2 separate regions of the Homo sapiens genome follow, and region 2 is linked to region 1. Evidence: promoter capture Hi-C in human tissues and cell types (Jung and others, 2019). All regions are on one chromosome and are shown on one strand. Each heading gives the region's core, a stretch centred on a gene start or on the middle of the fragment in contact. The rest is flanking DNA. Distances are from core to core; before and after follow the strand shown. Region 1 holds the start of DGKG (diacylglycerol kinase gamma). Region 2 has its middle 56 kb from the start of TRA2B.

Region 1 (5,961 bases), core at 1,816-4,315:
AGTCTCAGGGTGTCACCACAGAGCAGAGACATGCTCAGACTCACAGATAGTCCTGACCTCAAGACTCTTTCTGCTTTACCTTATGTTTGCACATACAGCAAATGCCCAATAAATCCTCACTTGTTTCACCGTAGCTTCAGCCTTTTCAAATAAAGAGCTCAGTTGCAGGGCCTCTGTCAGCCCATGCAAATTAGAGAAAAGGCATCCCTCCCTCCAGGCAGACATAACCCTAACAGGTTGTGTGGCTGGGCAAGTGGGGCATGAGTTGGATTTCAGCCCCTTAGCTGGGTGCCCTCTGCAGCAAGCCACATAAGCCACCTGGGCTCTGGCTCTTCGTGAGAGCAGCAACAAGGACTCCCTCCCCACAGTGCTCCATTCTGATGGGGAAGGCCTACCTTGGGAAAGCTGGCATCAGATACTTCCCAGCTTGCTTCCCAGCTCATTTCCCATCAAAAACAAACAACAAAAAATCCACACCTGCCATAGCTCCTCACTGTGGAACCCAAGTCTATGCTCCCAGAAGAGCATTTGGAGACTCCCACAATACTGTCCCAGCCTTCTTTTCTTGTGCTGGGAAGACCCAGAACTCACCATGAATTGTCCTACGTCTCTGCTTTTGCTTTCTCCCAGCCTAGATTGCCCTTGTCCTGTTGATCTTTAAGTGAGATCTCTATTCCCCTTTAAAATCCGATCGCAAACCCTACCTCCTCCATGATGCCTCCATTAGCACTAATTGTTCTTGGTGCTTCTTCCCGCCCCATCCCTCTTTGCCTTCCACATTGCTTCAGCCTCTACTACCACCCTTTTCCTCCATGTTATTAGCATGTAACTCAGTCCACACAGCCTTCTCTGAACTCCTTCTGCAGCAACTCAGATGCATCATTTGGCTCCATCCTGATCCTAAAGGAATCCATTTGCAAGCAAACCGATGAACAATATTGACTTTACAAATGATTTCTTTCATAGGACCGGGGGCTTTCATAGCCCACCCCACAGCAAACTACTTACCAATCTTTGCAAGCATCTCCCCTGTCCAAATCCCTGGACAACTTGGCAACCCTGTTGCCTGTTCTCAGGCAAGTTGCTTGGCAACCCTGTCCTCAGAGCTCCTCCCCTCTCGTTACCCTTCCCCAATGTGCTCTCAACGAAGCTAAGGCTCCACACTCAGTCTCTGCATGTCTTCTTCATTTGTTCCATTCAATTTATTTCCTTCCTGTCCTAATAGGCAGAGCAACTCAATGTTGTCCTAACACCTATTTGCAAACATGTACCCCAAGTCCATTATGATGCTCAGCCAAACACAGGGTCTCCTTCAGTTTAGCCTTCTTTAGAAGGAGTCAAGAATAGACAGCCAGAATGTTTTTCTTGTGACATGTATGTGCATTTTCCTCCATTGAGCATGCAGTCAAAAAAAGCAAGGATTGTGTCTTCCACATCCATGCAACCTAGCAGAGTGAAAATATATACCAGAAACCTGTGCTCAGGGCTCCTCTCTTCCAGGGATGAGGACAGTTCTAAGCCCTTTCTGTCTCTCAGTTCTTCTTTCCTCCCAAGTAAGGCCCAGGACTGGAGTTACGGGGAAGCACCTGAAGACAGAGTAGGAGTTTAATAAATAGCTGTAAAATGAATGAGTCAGTGACTGAAGAGGAAAAAAAGAAAGGACAAGGAAGAACTTTGAAGGCACCCTCACCAAGATTATTTCAGCCTAGCTGAAGGAAACTTTGAGAAGCCACCCAGGGTGATAGAATGGATAAGACCCAGAGGATAAGAGGAGTCGCAAACACGGGGTTCTGGTATCAGCTCTGTCTTCATCACTGTGTGGAATCTTAAGGAGATCTCTCAGCTCTGTTTCTCATCTGTCTCACCAGCCTGCCTGCAGATAGCCTAGTATGGACACCACCCAACAGGGTCCTCAGGGCTGTTTGACATTCGTGTTTGAGGCTTCTTCCCCAAATGCACAGACACCCAGAGCCCCTCGGCGCCTCCACACTCTGCGGAAAGCTTTTCTTGGCTGCAGTGCTGGCCCGGGGACCTTCACTGCCCACTGGCAGAAAAGAATTCTCGGCTGTGGAAATGAGTAAACTCCACATATTTTAAAGATGACAGTCTAAACTCCTAATGACTCTAAATGTGGTGTGAAATGGACAGCAGTCATCTTGCTGTGTGACATGCCTGAAATAGTGTCACCACCACCATCACCCCCTCACGTGGACATGCACGTCATGGAAAGAGAAGCAACAAGTCATAGTGCCTTGGCTAATGTAGCTCCCCTATTCCCCCCGACCCCTCACCCCAGCGTCTTTTCTGTGCTCTTCTACATTTTAAAAAAAGAAGAGATCTATTTATTCTGCAGGAATACAGTCCAAGGTCACCTAAAAGCAAAGGAGAATGGGAATTAAACACACCCAGAGACCCGACCCATCCAACAGAGTCCAGCTCAGGCAGGCTGTGCCAGTCTCCACCAGGCTACGAGGGGAAAACCTTTTCGAGTTGAACTGCCACCAATCCACTGCCACCGAAGTCAAGGTTGTCAGAAATGACCCTCTGGACAGGGCTAGTGATTTGGATCCTAGAGATACTGAGTTCCTGGGAAACAAAGAGAACTTGTTGATTTTGTATTTTTATTTTTTCTTCGATTTGGTCGGGATATTACGGTAGCCTTGACCAGAGTTGAGAAAAGGAAACGCCCAGTCGGTATTTATTTGTCAAACAGTTGTCCTTTGCCTCCGGGGTCAGGGGCCCTCTGGTACCCACCACTGTTGCATCCTCTCCACACTCCTAAGCCTGTAACTCCTCCTCCCAAACCGAAGCCCTGTCAGTAAAAAGCGTCCTAATGATGCCCGCGCCCTAGTTGCACCAAAGGGGGTCAGGTTCCCATCGAGCGGATCCACATTCGTGTGTGCGCACGCGTGTGCATGTGTGGAAGCGCGTGTCTGTGTGTGCCGTGTGTGTACGCGCGCGCGCCGGTGTGTGTGGCGGGGGCGGGCTCTGCGCCCGGGGGCAGGGCTCCGCAGTGAGAGTGGCAGCTGGACTTGCCAGGCTGCGAGGGGCAGGGCACAGAGCCGCAGTGCCGTAGTAGCGGGCCACGGAGATAGACAGCTTTGGAGCTGCTGAACTCCGAGCACAGGGTGAAGACCCCGGCGCTACCAACCACAGCCTGGCAGCCTGGTCTCCGCGGCACCCACTGGGGCTGCATCCCCCTCCCCCGAGAGGGCTGCGCAGGCGGGAAGACGCCCAGAGGCCAGCTTCGGTCCCCCTTCTGTCTCTCGGTTCCTCTTTCCTCCCAAGTAAGGGAATAAACCGCGAAGAAGGAGCGCCCCGGGCCACCGCGCAACCAAGTGTTGCCTGGTGAGGTAAGACGGCGGCCGGCGCGGCGGAGGGGGTCCCCGGCTCAGGGAGCACCCGGTGCAGCAACTTGGTAAAGGAGGGCAAAGCGGGAGCCGGTCCCGCGGCCAGGGAAGGGGCTGCAGCCAAAGCCACGGCGCCCACCCCGACAGTTCCACCTGCCACAAAGCCCTGCAGGAAGGGATGCCCCGCTCGAGGGGTGCAGGCTTGGGGAACGCACAGGGTGGGGCTCGGCTCTCTCTGCGACTGAGAGGCCCCCTCAAGCCTCAAAGCTGTGCGGGTGGGAGGCGGCCTTGCTCCAGGCAGTTTGCTAAAGCAACTGGTCGGATTTCCTTCTTCTTCTGGACTTAACCTTGGCTCCTTGATATCCAGTTCGCGCTCCAGGCAGTCCGAGAAGCAGGAGATGCTTTTCCTAATGTCTGGCCGCCAAAGCCTCCGACCGTCCCGCGGGGTTCTAGGACTTTGGGGGCACTCCACAAAGCCCCTGCGCAGGGCGACTTAAAGGGAAGCTGAAGCGAACACGGACACCTCAGAGAATAAAGGAGGGAAGGGTCGAATCTGAGGTTGATCTGTGTAGTCTCAGAGTCACAAGATGTGTCCGTGTGTGTGCTTGTGTCCTGAGGAGTGCGTACCCGGAGTCACCTGTGGTGCTTTCGCAGACTCCACCGGTCCACCTCCCCTTGCCTAGTCTGAGATTTTCTTCGTTTGAACTAGTGGAATAGAATTAGGGGAGGGGGCTGTGGAGTTCTAAAAAGCCCTACAGGTGATTTGACGTGCTGCCCCCATCCCCACCATCACTGCAGTGGAAAGCTTGGGACTAGAGCTAGAACCACCTCCCAGATGGGAGGGATGAGCTGCGGAACTCAGGGTGGCGGTCGAGACCCCTCCCCCAGTCGCCCCCCGCGGCGGGAGCGTCTGCTGCAGCGCGAAGCGATCTGTGGCTGCGCCGCAGTGGTGCCCGGGAGCGCTGTGAACCCGTGGGCGCGCTCTCCCGCGCTGCGCCGCTGCCTCCTCGGACTTCATTAGCATACGATGACCTCTCTGTGGGGAGGAGGGCCTGGGAGGGCTGTTTGTCATTCCTTTATTTTGGGGGCTTGGCGACGACACTTTGGATCTGGAGGTGAACACCAGGGGTCATGATGAGAGACAGTGGTCAGGACACAGGACTGGAAACGACCCCTCTGGTCTGGATGGGGGAATCAACTTTGTTATTTTGGTGCTTGGGATTCTCTGTCTGTAAAATACAGCTGGCAGAGCCACTTGCTGGCACACAGGGCACCCTGGTTGTCAATGAAGGAAATTAGATCATAGAGGGCAAATGTCGAGGTTTGGTCATGAACCCAGGCACAGACACACACCCCTTTATATTTTATGTCCCTCTCACTCTCATTCCAGGCATGTGTCTAACATGGGAAGGTACTTAACTGTTTGTCATATTAAAAGACTACATTTGCTGGAGATTCCATTCCGAATATGAATTATACTCCTTAAATAAAACGGCTGCAACTAAGCCAACTTCCCGGTCGTACTCCTGATCTATGTCTTTTTTGCCAATCACCCTTAACGTTTACACCCAGCACTATAGGCATTACTACAGGTATTTTTCTGGGAGGGGCTTTAGGGTGGGAAGCTAGTAGATGAGTCTTTCCTACCTTAGAATTTTATGGAGTGGTTGGTTCAGATCAACCGAGACATGGGGAGAAAACGACAAACATCAGCGTGTCTTGAAATCTAGACTCTCAGAGATGGGAGTAACTACTAAGATCATCTGTTCCAGCTCCCCCAACTGCTCCAACTCCCCACACAACACCATCAACAGATGGTGAGGATCCCTCCAACCCGGACACTCCCAGAGGCCCAGGCTGTGCATGTGTGAGCCTCTGCGAGGAAAGAACCCAGAAGCCAGCAACTCTCCCCTCTCCTACTGATGGGAGTTGGTGGATGCTGGCCCCATCTCCTCCCCTGGAAGAGAAGGGGGAAAAGGGCGGGGAAGTACCTTTTCTTTGTGGTAAAACTTTAAAACTTTTAAAATGTATATCTTATTGTATTACATCATTATAATGTACTCTTTTAGTATAAAAGTAATTCATGTTCATTGCCTAAAAATTGGGAAGTTGAAAAGTATGCAAAGAACAAATCAATCACCCATGATCCTACCACTCCCATCCCACACTGTTAATATACTGGCATATTTCCTTTCCATCTGTTTTTATGCCTCGAAATTATACAATCCATAGAGAGCCAGCATTTATTGGGTGCCTAATAAGTATACTTTGCATGGTGTTAAATTTTATATTCATTATATCCTTTAATCCTCAGGAGTCCCTCTGAGGTGTTATTACTATCAATCCCATTTTTCTAGGGTTGCATTTTTCTAGGGTTCTAAGACTTCAGGTGACTTGCCCAAGTTACATAGCTAGTATGTGGCAGAATCAAGATTCAAACCCAGGCTGTCTGACTCAAAAGTATGGTTGCTGAGCCCCTGTAGCTATTGGTTCTCTGCTTTTTTCTGAATTAGTGTTGTAGCAAAAGACCTTCATGAACATTGTTTTCCTGGCTGCATATTATTACACTGTTAGTTATTTAAGTTGCTTCCTGTCTTTAGCAACTACAAAT
Region 2 (5,961 bases), core at 1,469-3,968, 370 kb after region 1:
CTGCTAGGAATCACCTTGCAACCACAAGGGTAAATCCTGTCTGAGAACGGCAGCAACCCAGAAAGAGAAGACCTAGGTCCTGAGCCCCTAGCCCCTGTTGTGCCTTTTGATGCCTCTTTCTTTGCTTAAGTCATATGGAGGCAGAATTTTCAGCATGTACAAAGACAGGAGTTACAACTGAGAAGTCCTTTTCCCCATCTCTCTTGTGGCAATTAGATAGCATGCTTTTTGAAAGCAGAGACTAGATCTTGTCTGCAGTTGCATTTCTCCACAGTCGTATTGGTGCTCAGCACATAGTAGGTACTGAAGCAGAATTTCTTGGATGAGCTTGAGGCAGGCTCATCAGGCCCCAGAGCTGGGGTAGCTAGGAGAACCTTTGTCCCTTCCCTGGGCAGTTACCGATGCAAGGCCAGGACCCTTCCTCTGTGTCATCATCAGAGATGCATATAGTTTTTCGTAATGAAGGAAGTTCAGTGTGGGTTATCAATGAGTGTTACACTTGAAGATTCCAGTTGGACCTATAGAGACCAGGTTCACCCATCTAAATTCCCACACTCACCGAAAATAGGCCTTGAAATGCAGCAGTTCTCACAAGAGCTATTTATTTTGCAGCTGAGCAGAAGGCCTTTCTTATATGTTTTGCATAGGAGCTCAATATTAAACCCAAAGTCAAGGACCCCACGACTGCCATGCACCTTGTTTGCCAGACTCTGTCAGGATTCCCACATTCCAATAGATCTTCATTTCTGGCAGAGCCTGGGGCTTAGAGCAGAGAGAGAATTCCTGGAACAACTTGAGTTCCCTCCAAGACCAATGGACAATATCACATCCCTCCCCTTTGGGCTCTGGCCTAAGACTCCTGTAGCCCAATTTTAGGAGGCTAGGGGCCCTCTTGATTCCCAACATGTCTCTGACCCATCAGAAATGCTTGACATAGGGAAATTTACTTTCTAAGAACAAACTAGCCTGGAAGGGAGTGCTGGGGCTGTTCTTTCAGGGGAGAGATGTTTAACTGATTGTTTTTTGAGAGAGAGGTTCATGCTTTGTCCTTGGACAGCATTGCAGCATTGCAGAGCCCTGAGTTGCTTTAATTTTGACTCCGCTACCAAGAGGTGAGTCAGCTTAATGATATCAATGTAAGAACAGAGATGACGAAAGAAGAAGTGATTAACCTACAGCAGTCTTGCTGGTTAATATTAGAGCTGACCAATTCCTGAGGCCCTCTGTCTCCCAGTTCTGCAGATGCCGCTGTTAATAGGAGATCATCAGAATCTAGCTAAAAAGTATGCTAATCACATCACCCTAAGTTACTCTGGAGACATTTAGACCCTTCATAACCTAGACCCTTCCTCTCTCCAGCCCCATCTCTCATCATGATTCATCTCTCAAATAATATTCCAGTGATAACCTTTTTGGAGCTGATCATTTAAAGCAAGCTACATCCCTCCTCTATGCCTTTGTTTACACTGTTCCTTTGCCCAGATTGTCTTTCAACCTGTATCCTATTCCTATCTCTATTTATCCAAAACCCTCTCATCTTTCAAAGCCCAGCTCATATATCATCTTCTCTATCAATATCTCTATCTTTCTTCAACTGATCCCCTTCCCTATACCACCATAATCTTTCAGTTCTGAATGCTAATGGTAGCTTGAGGCTATATTGGTTATACTCACTGCCTTTGTCCATCGTAACTCCTGTACAACTTTAATATTCAGTTCAGTTTTCACCTCCTCCAAGAAACCTACCCTGTTGCTCCCAGGCTTAGCTGAGAACCCCATCAAGCTTCATGCCTTGTGTGTGTCTGTGTGTGTGTGTATCTTCCTCACTAAGCCGTAAGGACCTCCATGGCAGGGACAGAGTCACAATTATGCATATCTCTCCAGAACTTAACATAATGGGGATAACTCTTGGGAGCTTAATTGAGCCAAAAATCCTTGCCACTTGGGACATCTCCTCAGAGATGACATTTGCAGGGAGCAGTTACCTGTGGCCAACAAGGAGATGTTTACCCAGTACCCATTACCCAGTGCACTGCATTATTCTGGAGATTAAAGAAAGCAAGCCTGAGGCCGAGCATGGTGGCTCACGCTTGTAATCCCAGCATTTTGGGAGGCCGAGGCGGGTGGATCACCTGAGGTCAGGAGTTCGAGACCAGCCTGACCAATATGGTGAAACCCCGTCTCTACTAAAAATACAAAAATTAGCCAGGTATGGTGGTGCGCGCCTGTAATCCCAGCTACTCAGGAGGCTGAGGCAGAAGAATTGCTTGAACCAGGGAGGCGGAGGTTACAGTGAGCCGAGATTGCGCCACTGCACTCCAGCCTAGGCGACAGAGCCATACTTTCTCTCAAAAAAAAAAAGAAAAGAAAAAGAAAAGAAAAGAAAGCGAGCCTGGGCAACATGGTGAAACCCCTTCTTTACTAAAAGTAAATAAAATTAGCCAGCCAAGTGTGGTGGTGTGCGCCTGCGGTCCCAGCTACTCCAGAGGCTGAGGTGGGAGGATCGCTTGAGCCTGGGAGGTGGAGGTTGCAGTAAGCTGAGATTGCACCAATGTACTCCAGCCTGGGCAACAGAGAGAGACCCTGTCTCAAAAAAAAATAAAAAATAAAAATAAAGAAAGCAGAACCAGTCAGCCTAACACAGCCAAAGACTGAGTTTACTGCTGTGGTTTCTCCCTGGTATCAAGGGAGATTGTCCCATCTGCTTTCAAAAATTCAAATAAAGTAACAGACACTGAACAAGGCACTCGATGTGGTGTAGAAGACACATAATTATAAATAAGGCATTGTTCTGTCCCCAAGGTCCCCTCGTGGCAGACACAAAAGAGTGCAGTACACAAGTCCCATGGATGAGCTTGAGGCATCAGCTTTGCTTTGAAGAGTTAAGAGAAGCCTCACAGAAGAAGCGATATTTGACCTGGGTCCTCGAGGATGAGGAGGAATCTACTAGGCAAAGATGGGAACTAGGGGAGGACAATCTAGGCTGAGGGACCAGTCCGTGCAAAGGCTCACAGGCTGGCATGGACATGGCACGTCTGGGGGATGGCACATGTCTAGCTCGTAGGTGCCAGAGTCTTCGTGGAAGGTGAAGGAAGAAACGGGGGCAGAAGTGGAGCTTGGGACCTGCTTGTGGGGAGCCTTGAGCATTGTGTTAAAGATGAGGCTCTTATTTGACAAGCACTGGGGAGGCTTGAATGCTTCTAAGCATAAGAATAAAAACTGGCAGCAGTGCTCAGGACAGACAAGAGGGGCAAGAAGGCGTATCAGAGAGTATTGCTATAGTTGGTGAGAATGATAAGGATTAGGACAGAGTGCTGTGCTAGAGGAGAGGACGGCGCATGGCTTGAGAGATGTTGTGGGGGTGGAACCGCAAGGAGCCAAGCCTGTTCGGCATCCCGAATCCTTCCAGCACTACCCACATGGCCCCTATTCCCCCGCTCCCCAGCACATCCTTCTTCCCTCCTTGGCTGTTAAACCCTAAGGCAAGGAGATTCCAAATGCTGACTACATCTTCCTTGGCCCATCTCAGCTTTTGGCAAATAAATTGGTGCCATTCCCCAGAAAGCTTTTCTTGAACTTCATAAAGTTAGCAAAGAGGAGAAGTGTTAACAGTATGATCTGTTGAGTACCAAATTCTAATCCCAGCCCTAACACTAACCTAGCTTTTTCACTCCCTGAAATCCTGCCAAAATCAAAAGAGAAGGTCTGTGCCAGACACAAGTAATTTCAGCTGAACAAGCACTCCGAGGGTCACAGAGTGCTGTTTTGCTCGAAAAATGTTCTGCTGCTTCGGAACTGGCTTTGGGCTGCTGGTGGTGGCTCATGTGGATGACACAGTCAGAGGAGCATGGAAAGTATTTTTCTTTGGTAAACAAATATTTCAGTGTTGATGCTGAATTAAATCAGAAGCTCCAAGAATACAGGTGTCATTCATTTATTAACAGAATAGAAGAAGAGAGAAGGCATGATTCTGGACTGGCTCCTTCTAATGAGAACCAAAACTGATTCATCCCCAGCAGCTAGAGAAAAACCAAGCTTTGGGGAAGACAGGCAACACACATTCTTCAATGTCTATTATGCATCTAATTCTTTTAAAACACTATTGTTGGCGGGGCGCGGTGGCTTACGCCTGTAATCCCAGTACTTGGGAAGCTGAGGCGGGCGGATCTCTTGAGGCCAGGAGTTTGAGACCAGCCTGGCTAACATGGTGAAGCCTCGTGTCTACTAAAAATACAAAAATTAGTCAGGCATGGTGGCTCCTATCTGTAATCCCAGCTACTCAGGAGGCTGAGGCAAGGGAATCACTTGAACCCAGGAGGCAGAGGCTGCAGTGAGCCAAGATCGCACCATTGCACTCCAGTCTGGGCAACAGAGTGAGACTCTGTCTCAAAAAACAAAAAAATTCATTAAATTCCCAAAATGTTTCTATAAAGCAGCTGGTATTATGCCCATTGCCCAGATGATGAAGTTGAGGTATAGAAAGATAGTCCCATGCCCAGTGGAATGTGTAAGCAAACTTTGCTGTAGTGAAGTTCAGACTGTATAACAACATTCTTATTTTGAGAAGCCAGAGGAAAAAAATGATGTTGATTCCTGTAAATTTGTATGGGACTGCAGTTTTCCAAGCACACTCACATGCATTATTTTCACATCATACTCAGAATGGCTGTGTGAGGAGAATAGTAATATTCCCATTGCAGAGATGGAAGAATTGAGAGTCAGGGAGAAGAAAGGATTTGGCAGCCAGAAACAAGATTTGAACATCGAACTGAGTCCAGACCCAGTGCCTTTTCCATGGAAGAAGGCTCTGTTTTTATATGTAAATAAAACCTTCTATAGCGTTTGATAAGAAAGAGAAGGGCATTCTCAGGGGAGAGGGGATCAGGAGTAAAAAGGTCTTTGGGGAGAACTTAGGATGTATGATTTAGAGTCTGAGGTCCACACGGCCAGGTTACACTGATACACAATGGTGTCATCATCACATGCCAGCCTGGAAGCCATGCCACCTGGACTTGAACCCAGATTCTGCCTTTTAGCACTCATGCCTCGGTTTCCCCTTCTGTCAGTGGTGCTAATCATAGTACCTGTACCTCCTTCATAGAGAATGTTGTGAAGAGTTAACATAAGAAAAGTACTTAGAAGAGGGCCTGTTATTTAAGATAAATAAGCTTAATGAAGATGTGCTATTATTACTATCATTGTTACTACTACCTCTTCCACTAGAGGGTCCTGGGAATGAGGCTTGGTTGACAAGGAAGGCCTTAGAATCTCAGGTTACAAAGTTTGAACCCAAAGGAACAAAAGTAAGAGAAGGTCAATTTTAGTTGAAACAGGATAAAAGTGTTTAGGACAATGAAACCAGTAGGAGTGTGTAGGCCTCCCCAACACGTCTCTCCATCTGGATTACGGTCCCAGCTAAGGGCTTCCTCCATCATCACACTCACCCCAAGACACTGTAGTTGCCTGTCAATTACCTGCCTCCCCAGCTGGACCATGTCTGTGTTACGGGTGCATCTAGTGTCTAGCGCAGTGTCTGGCACTAAGTGCTCCACAGATGCTCTTCTGATGAATGAAGGAATAGATGAATGGAGTAGAATGATAGTTTAGAAAAGGAAGAGTCTATGGGGATACCAGCCCAGGGGCAGGCTCTGGGCTAGGATGAAGATAGAGGGAGTGAGAGAAAAGTAAGAAATGCAAGAGGCATTTGGAAGAAAGGACAAATAGGAATTTGTGAATGACAGACTATGGGAGTTAATGGGAAAGGAAGAGTCGTTGACTGCAAGCCTGGGCTCCTGGATGCTGGCAGTGGCCCTGTTAAAGATGAGAAGAAAGAAAGAAGTTGGTTTGAGGGAGGAGATTTGCCCTTGACTTTACCCTTGTTGAGCTTTATAGAAGTTACTGGTGGTAGCTCACGTCTGTAATCCCAGCACTTTGGGAGGCCGAGGTGGGTGGATCACTTGA

The links. The method cuts DNA at HindIII sites, captures the fragments that hold promoters and counts their contacts. A contact is called where the count stands out against the background at its distance.
Region 2: a fragment that was not itself captured here is called in contact with the fragment with the promoter of DGKG in region 1 in 1 of the 25 tissues and cell types used here (dorsolateral prefrontal cortex).

What each region holds. Positions count from the first base shown.
Region 1 is chr3:186,359,338-186,365,298 of GRCh38, reverse strand. It overlaps DGKG (diacylglycerol kinase gamma), which reads left to right and starts at 3,065. Exons shown (of 25, transcript NM_001346.3): 1 at 3,065-3,353. RefSeq lists a silencer at 2,906-2,995 and an enhancer at 3,780-4,297. The HindIII fragment of the contact is 4,334 bases long and covers 990-5,323 here.
Region 2 is chr3:185,990,725-185,996,685 of GRCh38, reverse strand. No RefSeq gene overlaps it. Among named protein-coding and RNA genes, the nearest start is that of TRA2B, 56 kb to the right of the region's middle. The HindIII fragment of the contact is 3,768 bases long and covers 835-4,602 here.